Linked DNA regions of Homo sapiens: region 1 is linked to region 2. Evidence: promoter capture Hi-C in 16 types of primary human blood cells and fetal thymus (Javierre and others, 2016). All regions are on one chromosome and are shown on one strand. Each heading gives the region's core, a stretch centred on a gene start or on the middle of the fragment in contact. The rest is flanking DNA. Distances are from core to core; before and after follow the strand shown. Region 1 overlaps ZNF385D (zinc finger protein 385D). Region 2 holds the start of RAB5A (RAB5A, member RAS oncogene family).

Evidence for each region. The method cuts DNA at HindIII sites, captures the fragments that hold promoters and counts their contacts. A CHiCAGO score of 5 or more calls a contact.
Region 1: a fragment that was not itself captured here is called in contact with the fragment with the promoter of RAB5A in region 2 in 1 of 17 cell types (monocytes); the score reaches 7.5 in monocytes.

What each region holds. Positions count from the first base shown.
Region 1 is chr3:21,504,558-21,510,879 of GRCh38, forward strand. It overlaps ZNF385D (zinc finger protein 385D), which reads right to left. Exons shown (of 8, transcript NM_024697.3): 4 at 6,304-6,322. Among named protein-coding and RNA genes, the nearest start is that of ZNF385D-AS1, 35 kb to the right of the region's middle. The HindIII fragment of the contact is 4,371 bases long and covers 553-4,923 here.
Region 2 is chr3:19,943,434-19,949,647 of GRCh38, forward strand. It overlaps RAB5A (RAB5A, member RAS oncogene family), which reads left to right and starts at 3,664. Exons shown (of 6, transcript NM_004162.5): 1 at 3,664-4,088. It also overlaps a transcript of EFHB not described here. RefSeq lists enhancers at 2,545-3,146, 3,557-3,726, 3,652-3,821, 3,683-3,732, 4,253-4,302 and 1 more. The HindIII fragment of the contact is 3,439 bases long and covers 613-4,051 here.

The DNA of each region.
Region 1 (6,322 bases), core at 1,488-3,987, 1.6 Mb after region 2:
ACTCTCAAGAGGCATGCCCTCTAGCAATGAGAGAAGGTAAAGGCAGAAAACTTCCCTTTAGCAAGAATATGATAGGGCAACTAGAAAGGAATTGGTTTTATGGAGCTTTATAGGCAGGAGGAAGAAAAGTGAAAGAATTTTCCGTGTTTTAGAACTACAGTACAAGAAACAACAATGGAAAAACAAGGTGTGCCTCTAGTGGAAAATATTGCAGGAAAGCCGTGGAAGAGAAGATTGGAAAGGTAGGTTGTGATCCTGGGGTCCAGCACAGAGGTACATTAAAGATTTCTGAATGGGTAAGAGATGTGGTTTATGTACTGTAGAGTATAACTGGAGAGTAAAATGAAGAACATGGTTGTCAAGACACAGGTGTGGAGGCAGTTAGACCTGCATAGAGGCTAGGGCAAATGTATGTGAAAAACATAGATCTACAAGGCCAGGATGTGGGTAGTAACAACATGTAAAAGCATGAACCATTCCAGGAATGGGAGGGAAGTGGACTCTAGCAATTGAATAGAAGTGAGAACTTAGGAGAGGAAAAGACAACTAGAAAGCTTTCAAATCTGGGAAGTGCAGAACTCAAAATAAACGATGATGGTCAGGATGAGGACTGGTTTTTTTCATTTGTTTGTTTGTTTTTTGAATCTGTTAAGTATTGATGCTTGAAAGCCATCCAAGTAAGTGAGCAATGGGCCATGGAAAAGCAGATCTGGACTTAGGAGAAGGACAGGGCAAGAGAATCTTAAGACATCTAAGCACAAGTGATACTTGAAGGAAGCCATGATAGTGTTCAAATAGAGACCATAAGATTGAAGGAACAGACTCTTTGTGGCAATAAGATACAAAATTCTAAATAACAACTAAGGCCATGCCTGACAAAGTTTAAGGCACACACCCCTACACGTAGAGAGTAAACTATGTTCTAACTGTTCTAACTATCACAACATTTTTCTTTTCTCTAGCAGCTAAACAAGCACTGGACTCAAGATAAGCAATATTGAAACAATTGCAGCTCACTGACCACCAGACATTGCCTAACACTCCCCAACTTTTCACAAGCCATAACTACAGCCTTGACTGGACAAGAAATCGACTTCAGTAACTTTCTCTTAATAAGAGAACACTGGCCATGGACTGGTTCTGGCCAGTTTACAGAGGCTGCATATGTAAGTGCCTTCATGTCCCTGTTTCAGCTTTTGACTCAAAGGACCTAATTGTAATTTATTTAAAGTCTCCACCCCAAAATGAACATGGGTCATATGTAACATGAATGTTTCCTTAGTATGCATGCATACATCCCCCCTTTGTCAATATTCATAGCTCCTCCTATATCTCATTGAATATGTATACTTGGCCAACCGTTTCAGCATAAATTCCTGTTTTATCTCTCCTCCCTCGAAGTACCTATTCTCAGACTCTGATGGAGGCTGTGCTTCCCAGACTGTCAGGATGGCCACCCTGCAGGCTGTAACTATAAGAAATAAAGCTCTTCTCTCCAAATTTGTAGGTCTAGTGATTGAAGTTAACAATAGAATGTTATATAATTGCTGACTAATATCTGTTTTGCTTCTCTAGAGGAGAATTATTCTTGCCTGCCCCATTGTAATCAGGCTTGGCCATGTAACTTACCAGTGAAAAGTGAGAGAAATATTACGTGTCAGTCCACTAAAAAGCTCTAAGAGCCTTTTCCCCTCTTCCATAGAATTCTCCAGCTAGTGGTTGCTTCGTCAGCCTAGTCCTGGAGTTAAATTAAGATGAAAGAAAAACCACAGCTGATATGTAGTATGAGTAAGAAATAATTAGATATTGCAAAAGCCACTAGGATTTTAGAGGTTGTTTATTACTGCAATATAACCTAGCCTAACCTAACTGATAAACAATGTGAATGAGATTCCCTAAGAATCAAAAGTAAAGAAAGATCAGGGAATGACCTTGTACAGAACTTATTCAGACAAATCTGAATTTGTCATTTCATAGAAGAACAAACAACACAAGTTAGTTACACTTGCCTAGTTACTTTGAGTATAATTTTTAAAATTTTGCCATTAATTTTTCTAAATAAAAAACTTGGTATTTAAAAACACTTGCTAGATTAGACAATTATTCTGGCTATCTTTGGAAATGCTCTATGAAATATTCTGTGACAAATAGTAACCACTCTTATCAGCAATTTAGAGTGCTCAATATATTTTTTAAAAATATTACTTTTACCTGTAAACTTTTATACAAGTAAATTCACCAACCTAACACTCTTCATTAGATCACAAGAACTAAAATTGTTCTTTAACGTTAGGAAGTGTGTTTTTGCCTTGAGATAGATGAACTAGGCATTCTTTCTATGAATAGTCAGTGGCTGATCACTGAATACAATTTTCTGCTCAGCACTCTAGCAGACTGGCATAATTAGAGAAAAAGGCAACACAAAAACCCAAGATCATAAAGTTAGTGAATAGGAGCTAACCCCATGGTTTAGATGTATGTGTTACCCCAAGGCAGCAGATAAAACCTTATTATTTATACTAATAAATAATATATGACTTGAAAATTTAAGAGGAATTATCAATCAAAATTGTCTTTATATCAGTCAACTAGGTTTACAATGAAAATTTAGTTTCTGTGAGTATTCTTTCTATTTCTTACATTTTAGAGAAAACCGCCAAATCAATTTTCTAATTAAAGGCCATACCATTTCTTCCCCTTTTCACTATTGTTGCCCCAACCCTCTCCAGGGGTTCTCATTTACCAAAGTATGACATGTTTAACATTTTTCAAAGGAATTAGTTTGGGTTTTTAAAATATATATATAATTGGATTACTCTTTTCATATAGATTTTTTAATTAAAATGATTTGATAAATTACTAAAATGTGATTTCATGTGTCTCTATCTTTTATATATGGACAAGCCTACAAATCACAAAAGATTCTTGTGCATTACCAGAAATTTTCTTTTTATTATTAAAAAATGCATGATCTTTGATTCTAGAGTCTTATCTACCTCTTCTTCTCCTTCTGCCAAGTATTTAACTATTCTACAAAATTAGCTCAGAGTCCTTTTGTTTTGAGATGAGGTCTCACTTATTTTGCCCAGTCCAGTCTCAAAGTCCCAGATGCAAGGAATTGTTTGTGCCTCAGCCTTCCAAGTAGGCGAGTCTATAGCCACATGCCACTGTGCCAGGCTCAGACTCATTTTGTTTTCAGAGTTGTGCTAATCAGTATGAGGAAGCACATAGTAATAAAAAGAACATGTAATTGCTTTAAGAAAACTCAAATTTGTTAGCCTAGATGCCTCAGGTTTATACTGCAATACAAATAGAATAAGGGTCTACGAAATGGGTGTCTTTTCTCATAGAGAGTTTTGTGTAAATTCAGTTTAAAGAGAATTTGGCTCAAAATATCTGATGAGTGTGCTGGAACTCTTAGCCTCTCAACCTATATAACTTGCTTTTTTGTTTGTTTTTTTGTTTTGTTTTGTTTTTTCCTGATATAGGTCCTCATGGATTAGGAAAGCAATGTCTTTCCTAATGTCCATCGCTTCCTTCTTTTGGCTTTAGAATATCTGCACCAACTTTACAGACTTTACTATCTCTTCTGCCCTTTTGAAATTTTCTCTAGCTCCAGCTTGGAAGGGTGCTTCATCATCTCAACACCATTTCCACTGTTAGGTAAGTTCTGGCATGTTTATGTTATCTTCAAAAGACAAATCCAAAGTTTGTTACCACTCAACTTCTGAAAGGACAGATCCTGGAAGACTGCCACCCTTCAAAGTTGTAAAAGAAAATAAAATTTAAGGACCCTCTAAATTTATTATGCCAAGGGGTGGGGTGGGGGTGTTAAGCACTGGTGTCTGAGTCACATAACATGTTTGCAATTTCTGCTTCTTTGGGGTTAATTCTCTTCCTCATTTTCTTGTTCTGTAAATGACTAGGAGAGACCAGACACCAGACTGCCTCCCCCTTCCAATTACTGATATTTGTTATATATTAACTACATCCTTTATTGTCCTGTACCTAAGACTAGATGGTGCAAAAGACCCCATGAGTATTAAATCCTCAGTATAAAATGTTAAATATACCTTTCCCAAAAGAATAAGACCACCCCAACCAATGTCAGATTACTGTAACTAAGCATTAAGCCTTATATAGAAAGAGGTGTTGAAATTCTGTTAAACTTCCCTAAACTTTGTCTATAAAAATGATACTAAACTTCTACACTTTGGAATACTGACTTCCATTCTTTGGAATCTGTGTTTTCTGGGCAGCCATTCTCCAACTTAACACTTGGATAAACTCTCTTTAAACTAGATTCTGACCCTTTGGATTATTCTAGGTTGACGTATTCTAGTCTCTAAGTTAAGAGATGAAAGTATCTAGTCACAACCCATTTACTTAACAGAGACAACACACCTGGGGGCTTTTTTTTTTTTTCTTTTTCTTTTTTGAGATGGAGTCTCGCTCTATCGCCCAGGCTGGAGTGCAGTGGCACAATCTCGGCTCACAGCAAGCTCCGGGGGGCTTTTCTTAACTCAAGTTAGCAGCTCTACCTACCACACATATATATATTTTTAAATGATGTGCATCCTTAATGAAACACATATTTTCATATTTTAAAAAAGTCAAGATAACCCAAAGATGAATTGTTGATTTAAAAAGTCTAAAAGTAGAAAAAATTTGGAGCAAGGAAAAACGTCACTTTAACCCTTTACATCAAACTCATCTCTTTGTTCTCCCTACCTACTGCCTTCTTTGCATCAAAAGGCTTCAGGATTTTTCTGCACTTCTCTATGCCAGATGCTGCTTTGGGGATCCCCACCTGTGACCCAATATCCGGGAGCAGAAATTACACTTACCTGCTTCATTACCACTCATTCTCTTTCAGCCCTCAAAATAAAGCAGGTAGTCTTCGATTATTAGAGAAAAGACCAAAGCTTTCCCTAAAAGGTTTAAATCTAAATTAATAAAATGGCACAATCCAGCTCTTGCTCTGGATAACAAAGAAGTGAATATGACAAGCCTGTCTTTTTTTTTCCTCTTTAGTATGTGGTGGCACAAACTTGGCTATATCAGAGAACCAAACCAAAGGAGTGAAATAAGTCTCAGTCATTCAACAGACATTTTACTCAGCATTTATCCCATGCCAGACCAGTTGCCAGCATACAAAGATGAGACATGTATTCAGGCTGAGGGAAAACACAGGGCTCTTAGGGAGGGCAGCATGATGCATCTACAATAATACCTGAAGAAAATACAAAATGCCACAGGAACTAAGAATATCATTATCCCTTACAGATTCACTTGCAGCATCCCCAGTCCTTGGAAGAGCTGATATGTGTCCATTGTGTAATAAGGATGTTACATTGTGTAATAAGGTTGTCGTAATCTATTCTATTCATTCACTGTTTATTTTCTGTTTTCATCAGTCATATCCAGAAGATCCTCTTTCAGTTAAGACACTATCATTGGTGATGATATGAACGTTTCCTTACCATTGCCATTCACATGGACTGGAAAACAATTGAGGTGTAACAGTCTCTGTGTTCTAGAAAGTGATTTATTAGAGGTATATCCATGAATCACAGAGGAATATTTTCTCTGTAGATTTCGAAAACCAGTGGTCTTATATTTAAAATGTCAGCTTGGGGAAACCTCACTAGCTTCCCCTATTATGAATAAGCTGGTCGTTGGCAGGAGCTATCCCAAGGGGCCATTCAGAGGCCATTATTTCACCGTGAAGCCTCTGTTAAAAAGAGTAATTGGTATCAATAACACTTACCTGTGTTTGCAGAGGGAAGGTTACCCAGCCATAACAAGCCCAGTATCACACAGCCACTACTTAAAACAATGCAGTATTTGGAATTTATGACAATAAAGGCTTTCTGTAATAATGCCCTTATTGGGGCCTTCTCAATTCATTTAGCATACTTTGCTGTGTACTCACAATTAAATTAAATCTGCCATGCAGTTATAAGCTAAGGTGCTGCATACAAGATGCAAATGCTGCACACTGAAAAGGTTCATTTCTCAAAAAGAGTTATGGGGTACATGGCTTCAAATGCCTTTTATGACTATTCCTCTGAAACAGCCACAGGACTCTTGCAAAATGCAAAATCTGGAATATAATTAGTGATTATCTTAATCTTGCAGGGGTTTGGAAAAATGAGAGGAAACAATTACCATTATACAGAAAGATGGCTCAAGCATGAATCAATATGGCAGGCACATAAGTAAACAGACATGGGGCTAGACAAGGGAGGGAATCCCCAACGACGACGACGAGGACAACAACAACAAAGATCATTGCTTAACCTGTTTTGTCAGAGCTGGT
Region 2 (6,214 bases), core at 2,414-4,913:
CAGGTAAGGGCTCATTCAATTCATTCATTCATTCTACAAACAGGTATTGAGTCCCTCCCTATTTTGTGTCAGTGTTGGGAATACAGTTAGCCCTCTGTATTCCATCGAAAGTATTTGAGTTAAAAAATGAAAAAAACACAAAATAATACAAATTAAAAAAATACAACTATTTACATATCATTTACATTGTATTACTTATTGTAAGTAATCTGAAGATGATTTAAAGCATACAGAATAGCCTACATGCAAATACTACACCATTTTACATGAGACTAGAGCATCTGCAAATTTTGGTACCCATATGGTGGGGGAATAAGGGAGTGTCCAAGAACCAATCACAAGCAGATGGACTGACTGTATAACCCAACCCCTATCTCATGGAGCTTATATTCTAGTAGGGATAGATAACCATTAAGTGGAACGATGCGTAATATCATATCAAATGGTGCTAAGTGTTATGAAGACAATGCATAATATCATATCAAACAGTGCTGTTATGAAGACAACAGACTACTTCGATATGTAACAAAGCATTTAGAATTAGTGGGCTTAGAAGTCCCTTAGGTAGATGACATTTGAGCTGAAGCCTGAATGATGCCCTCCAAAGACACAAGCTTTTGAAACATGACTAGCTTAAGTTTTCACAGCCTTTTATTCACTGACTTGCTACTACGCCAATGTTAGAGTTACCGTTGGTTTGTCTCCAGGAAAAATTTTGAATTGTCTCCAGACAGTTCCAGTTAAAAGTAAATGTAACCATTCATTATCATCTATGCAAAGATTCATTCTTTAGCTACACAAGGGAGGACAGATTTCCTGGAAGAGAAGGAAAAGGTTATGGGATCCTGTGAATGGTAGAGAGACACCTGCCACTGGGAATTTGTTATTGAGTATTTAGAGATTTGAGGGCAGTATAAGCATCAAAGACAGTGTTTAAGTCTTCATGATTATTTATCCATTTTGTACCTTCCTTAACAAGTTCTATCAACTGGTAGGACTCCACATTTGACACTAAAATATATACAATTATCAGTCCTCCTCAGTTATCTGGGGCTATGAAAAAGAAAACATAGGCATATTGCAAGTGGCAATAAAACAACAGAGCTTTACTGTGTCATTTCAATTTCTCTAAAACTACTACCGGATCTTTAGAAATGCCAGCCACCAGGGCAGCACTCTTCCAGGCAAACATTATGACTAAACTGTAAAATATTGTGAAAAGTATTCATGAAGGAGGTGAAGACAAAATCACTAAACAGGAACGAGTGAAGAAGCAACATACTGGAACGATGAAATAGGGAGTTTTTTGCAATTTATAAATTTCAGCATCAAATGTTTTTCATTGTGAGGTCTTCTTAATGTTCGTGATTCTAAATGTAATTAAGTTCACCAATACTTTGGGGGTCCCTATTATAGCAGTCAAGGGTCTTCTGTGAAGAACTGAAATGATGAATAACTGATGGTCACAGCCCTTAAAAACCTTATAATTCAATGAAAGGCTAAGGAGAAAAGTCCAGGTGCTCATTAGCTATTAAAATAAGGCAGATTTTAAGACAGCCATTATACAGAGTAAGGCAAAGTATTGTGAAATTACAGAAAAAATAATAATTGAATCCAGTAGAAGTATCTGCAGATGCGGTCCAAAGGAACTGGTGTCCTGGCTAAGACGGAGCCAGCAGTTATGGGCAATGATAGTGTTCCATGTGGAGAAAATAAAGTGATCAGATACCAAGATGGCAACACACAGGCAATATTCAGGGAACACAGACCAGATACGTGTGATCAGGGAACAAATAAAGAGTATGGGGAGAGGAATTCTATAGAAATAGAATGAAAGAAACTTGGGTTGGGACTAGAGTTAAAGAACTTTAGACTGTCAAGTAATGACATAGCATTGAACATTTTTTAGTAGAGTGGCTAAAATGTAAAGAATGGACAGAAAGAACAGCAGTATGCATTAATTTCAGTTTATATAAACACTACCATGGACCAGGTGTTGGGATTAGACTTCAAATTTGGGGATTAGATAATTTGTTGATAGAATGGACAATGGTTTGTGAGGAGAAGAAAGAGGTGAAGCTGATTCTGCAGTTCCAAGTCTGGGTGACTGGGAGGATGTTAATGCCAGTCTCTAAGCAGAAGCAGGTTTGGAGTGGAATAGGTTTCGTTTTGGGCATACTGTTGACATGACAAAACTGATGTCACATATCCTATTTCCTGACTCCTCCTGGGATTGTCCCAGAGCTATTACCATGATTAATAGTTCATATTGAACAACTCCTTGAGAATAAAATGCCACAGGTATCATTTACGTATGACACATTACGTTCTTCTGGCAACTAGGTAGTTGATCTGAAAGACGGGCTGTTCAAAGTTCAAATCATCTTAATTGCACAATGCCGCCGACTGTACGCCCATAAGATACCTTAACCCGGTACACTTCAAAGACAATATTCTCGCCCTTACAACAGAGCTATACATTGTAAACTGCAAACTGAAAAGTAGCCTTTATTCTGAAGGAAAATCAATTTAATATTCTTCCACTAAATTATCAAAACAATTTTTTTGGCGGAGGCTGGGGAGGGGGTGGTGGCTGAAGCCTCGCCAGAGACTGAATGTGGTGTGGGATTCAACTAAAGCAGCACATCTTCAGTAGGTCCCCCGTGGAGGGTAACGAACATCTTGGGTTGTCTTTCACCAGAATTGTGTTCAACAACTCACGTTCTGGAGCCAACCCGCCGCAGATCAGAATCCAGCTTCTGCACCACACAGCCGTGATCTCGGACAAGTTACTCAATCTCTTGTGTCTCAAATTCTTTACCTATAAAACATCTACAACTAGAACTGAAGACTTGGCTGCCAGGCACTGGGCTAGACATAGATTTACAGCGGTGAGGACCACCAAGGGGAGCTAAAATTCGAATGTAGGGAACAGACGATTAACAAGTTAGTTTCAGAATGAAAGACTCGAGTGTAAGAATTCAATGGGATAATTCCTGTAAAGCGTTTAGTACAGTAAAGAGCGAAGGGAAATTCTGAATAAAAGGCAGACACTATTTTAGGATTTGGCCTTCCCCGCCCCCTACCAAAACCACGTAAACTCTTAACAGAAGCGACTTCTTATTGTCAGGCGCCTAAAGGCGGCTTTTGGGATAGGGAGGGTCCTTTCTTCCTCCTTGGGGTAAATGCGATTTAGCAGCCTTTACCGACCTACCCAACCCCAGGGCCATTTTGTGGGAGGAGGTTCTCTCGTGCTAGACAAGTTCCCTCTAATAAAGCCCCTTAGCCGAGATGCCAGGATTGGGGTTAGGGAACCTCGCCGCTCCCACAAGGGCTGGGCACAAAAAACAAACAAAAAAACACAAGTTATTTTGATCTTCCCCCAAAGAATAGTAAAGGAATTTCCCCCGACCCCGGCCGCCAGGAGCCCAGAGACCCCCCAGCCTAAATAACAATGGCGCTGGAGAGGGCGTGGCCGCGCGTACCTGGGGTGGGGGAAGGGGAGAAAGGCGGCCAGTTCGGATCTGAGCCACTCGCAGGGTCACGTGACATCCTGCCTCGCCCCGCCCCGCGAACAAACCTAGGCGGGGAGGGATTCGGGAAGGGGCGAGGAAGCGGAAGGAGCAGGCGGACTGGCGATGATGGGAAGTGACGAAGTGGCGCAGTTCGCTGCGTGCAGCGACGTGGCGGCGGGGCCGGCACCGGGCAGCGGAAGTGGCTCCGGCGGTGGGACTTGAGTGTTTGTGTTTTGGTTCGTGAAGGAGCCGGCGGCTGGCCTTAGGGGAGGAGGCAGAGGGAGGAGGAGGAGGAAGAATTAGTCGGAACTCCAGCGCCGGCGGCGGCGGCGGCGGCGGAGGAGGAGAAAGGAAAGAGGAAGGGGGAGCGGCGAGAGGCGGAGACGGAGCCCGACAGGGGCGGCACCACGGCACGAGCCCCGCACAGTCCAGTGTGAGGGGAGCGGCGCTAAGAGCAGGCGACGCCGCCGCCGCCACCACCACCGCCATAGATACACTCTCATCCTACGGGCCACGCCTGGGCCTTGCTGCCAGGAAGCTTCGGCCCCGCAGCTCGGCTTGCTGCGGTCTCAGGTAACCGAACCGCCCCTCCTCCTGCGCAGCGGGGGCCTGGACCCCAGGTTATCCGCGGTCCCCAGCCTGTCCGCGGCCCTGCCGGTACTGAGACCCCCCACCCCTTCTCCCTCACGCGCAGCAGTGCCCTGGACCAGAGAACTATCGAACCCGGCGTCTTGTTCTGCCAGCCCTGGTGACTCATCCTCCAGGGGCTCTGGAGACCGGGATTTGGGGACTGACTGAGGGAGCGACGGGTGTCACCCTTTCCCTTCTCAAGATGGCGCCGTGGAAAGTGTACTGGAGGCCGCGGTTCCGCCTGGTCTCCGTCCTGGCAGTCCTGGGGGTCTCGGTCAAAGCAAGGCAGGTTCGGGGGAGGAGGTTGGAAAGGCCAAGGGACCTGGCGAGTGCTGCTTATCCAGGCGATCTGTAGTTGGCTATTAGCTACTCAGGTGCTCTCCAAGCAGGAACCTGGGCCTACTGCAGGTGTCAATGTGGGGAGCTCCGCCTATCTTCAACTTCCAAAGATGAGTAGTGTCGGTGGGTGGGAGGCTCGTCAAAATAGGCTGTCTAGAGACTTGTTTTCTGTTTGGAAGGTAGTGAACTACAGCGTTAAATAAATTCAAGATAACAGGACCGCTGAACTCCTTCACTGGGTAGAGACCATGGAACTTGCTCTGGCGTTATCTTCCCTGGAAGCTGCTTACCTCTGAGACTTTCAAACTTGTTAAGTTCTGAACGTCATAGTTCACATACTTGGTTTTTGTCTTGCTTAAATGGAATCAAAGCGTTCAATCAGTTGCCTTTCACATAATAAGAAAAAAACACTTGTACACCTCTGGGAATACTCAAGACTGCTCATAAACTTTATTCCTAAAGTAAAATGGAAGTGATAACTCAGCATTTGTATAAACAAAGTAAATGGAACAGTGCCTGGCACAAAATAAGTGCCCAGTCAATTTTTTGATCAAAGAACCCTTAGAAGGATTTTAACTATAGAATGAATAACAGTTATTTTCAAAAGATTACAAATGTATATTATGCAAAATTCTTGTTTTGCAAAACAGAAGTTTCAGTAAGCAGTGAATACAAATGAATGCACGTAATTTTTAACCTTAGTGTTATGCTAAGTGTATATTTACCATTAACTTTAGTTATTTCCTGTTTGAGATCCTTAGGGGGAGTAGCCACAATTAAGTAGCTTTAAACCTTAAAAGTCAAAGTGAAATCAGAATCTTGTTTGATTTTTTTTTTTAATGGGAGTCTGATATTTTCCCTAAAATTTTGGAAGTGCCGTAGAAATTTGGAGCATATTGTCCTTGATAAGTAATTTCTTGTTTTCTTAAATAAAAAGACAAATGGAAAATGTTTTGATTGTGTGTAATATCTGAAGATGTATTGGTGCATTTTCAGTATATATGATGTTCTATTGATATTTTATCATTTTCTTATCAAAGGAGCACATTATTGGCAATTTCAATCCCTACTATGTATATTAGAGATTGTTTACATGTATTGTTTTATTTAATTGTCACATCAGCTATGCAAGTTAGATATTATGGGAATAGAAACTTGGAAATTAAAGAGTTTGCCCAGACGGAAATTGGTATAGCCAGGATTACACCCCTAAATCTGGTATGTTTGTGGAGGAGGGGGCATTTTTATTTATACCTTGTTATTTGGAAGCAACTCAGATATTACGTCAATAAATCTGTAAATATTTCAGTATGTAATGGTAAAAGATAAGGACTCTAAAAAGCTGGTGTTTAGTTAAGGCAAGGAGGTAGTTTCATTGCCTTAAGAACTAAGATCTCGTGGACATGTTAGGGAATTCATTATGAAGAGCGTATTATAAGCTCATTTTATGGGAAAGGCATATTTCTTTCTTTTGTTTTTAATATAGAGACAGGGTCTCACTGTGTTGCCCAGGCTGGTCTCAGAGTCCTCCTGCCTCACCCCCAAAGTGTTGGGATTTACCGGTATAAGCCACTCTGTCCAGTGTGAAAGACGTATTTCTTATATGAGGTAGCTAAATGAAATATAGCAGGGTTTTTAGAGAGGGAATCATCAGGTTTAATATATTAGCATGTATTCGGATTTTGATTAAAGATAGAAGGAAACTGTTAAGATTGGTTTGTGAGTGGATT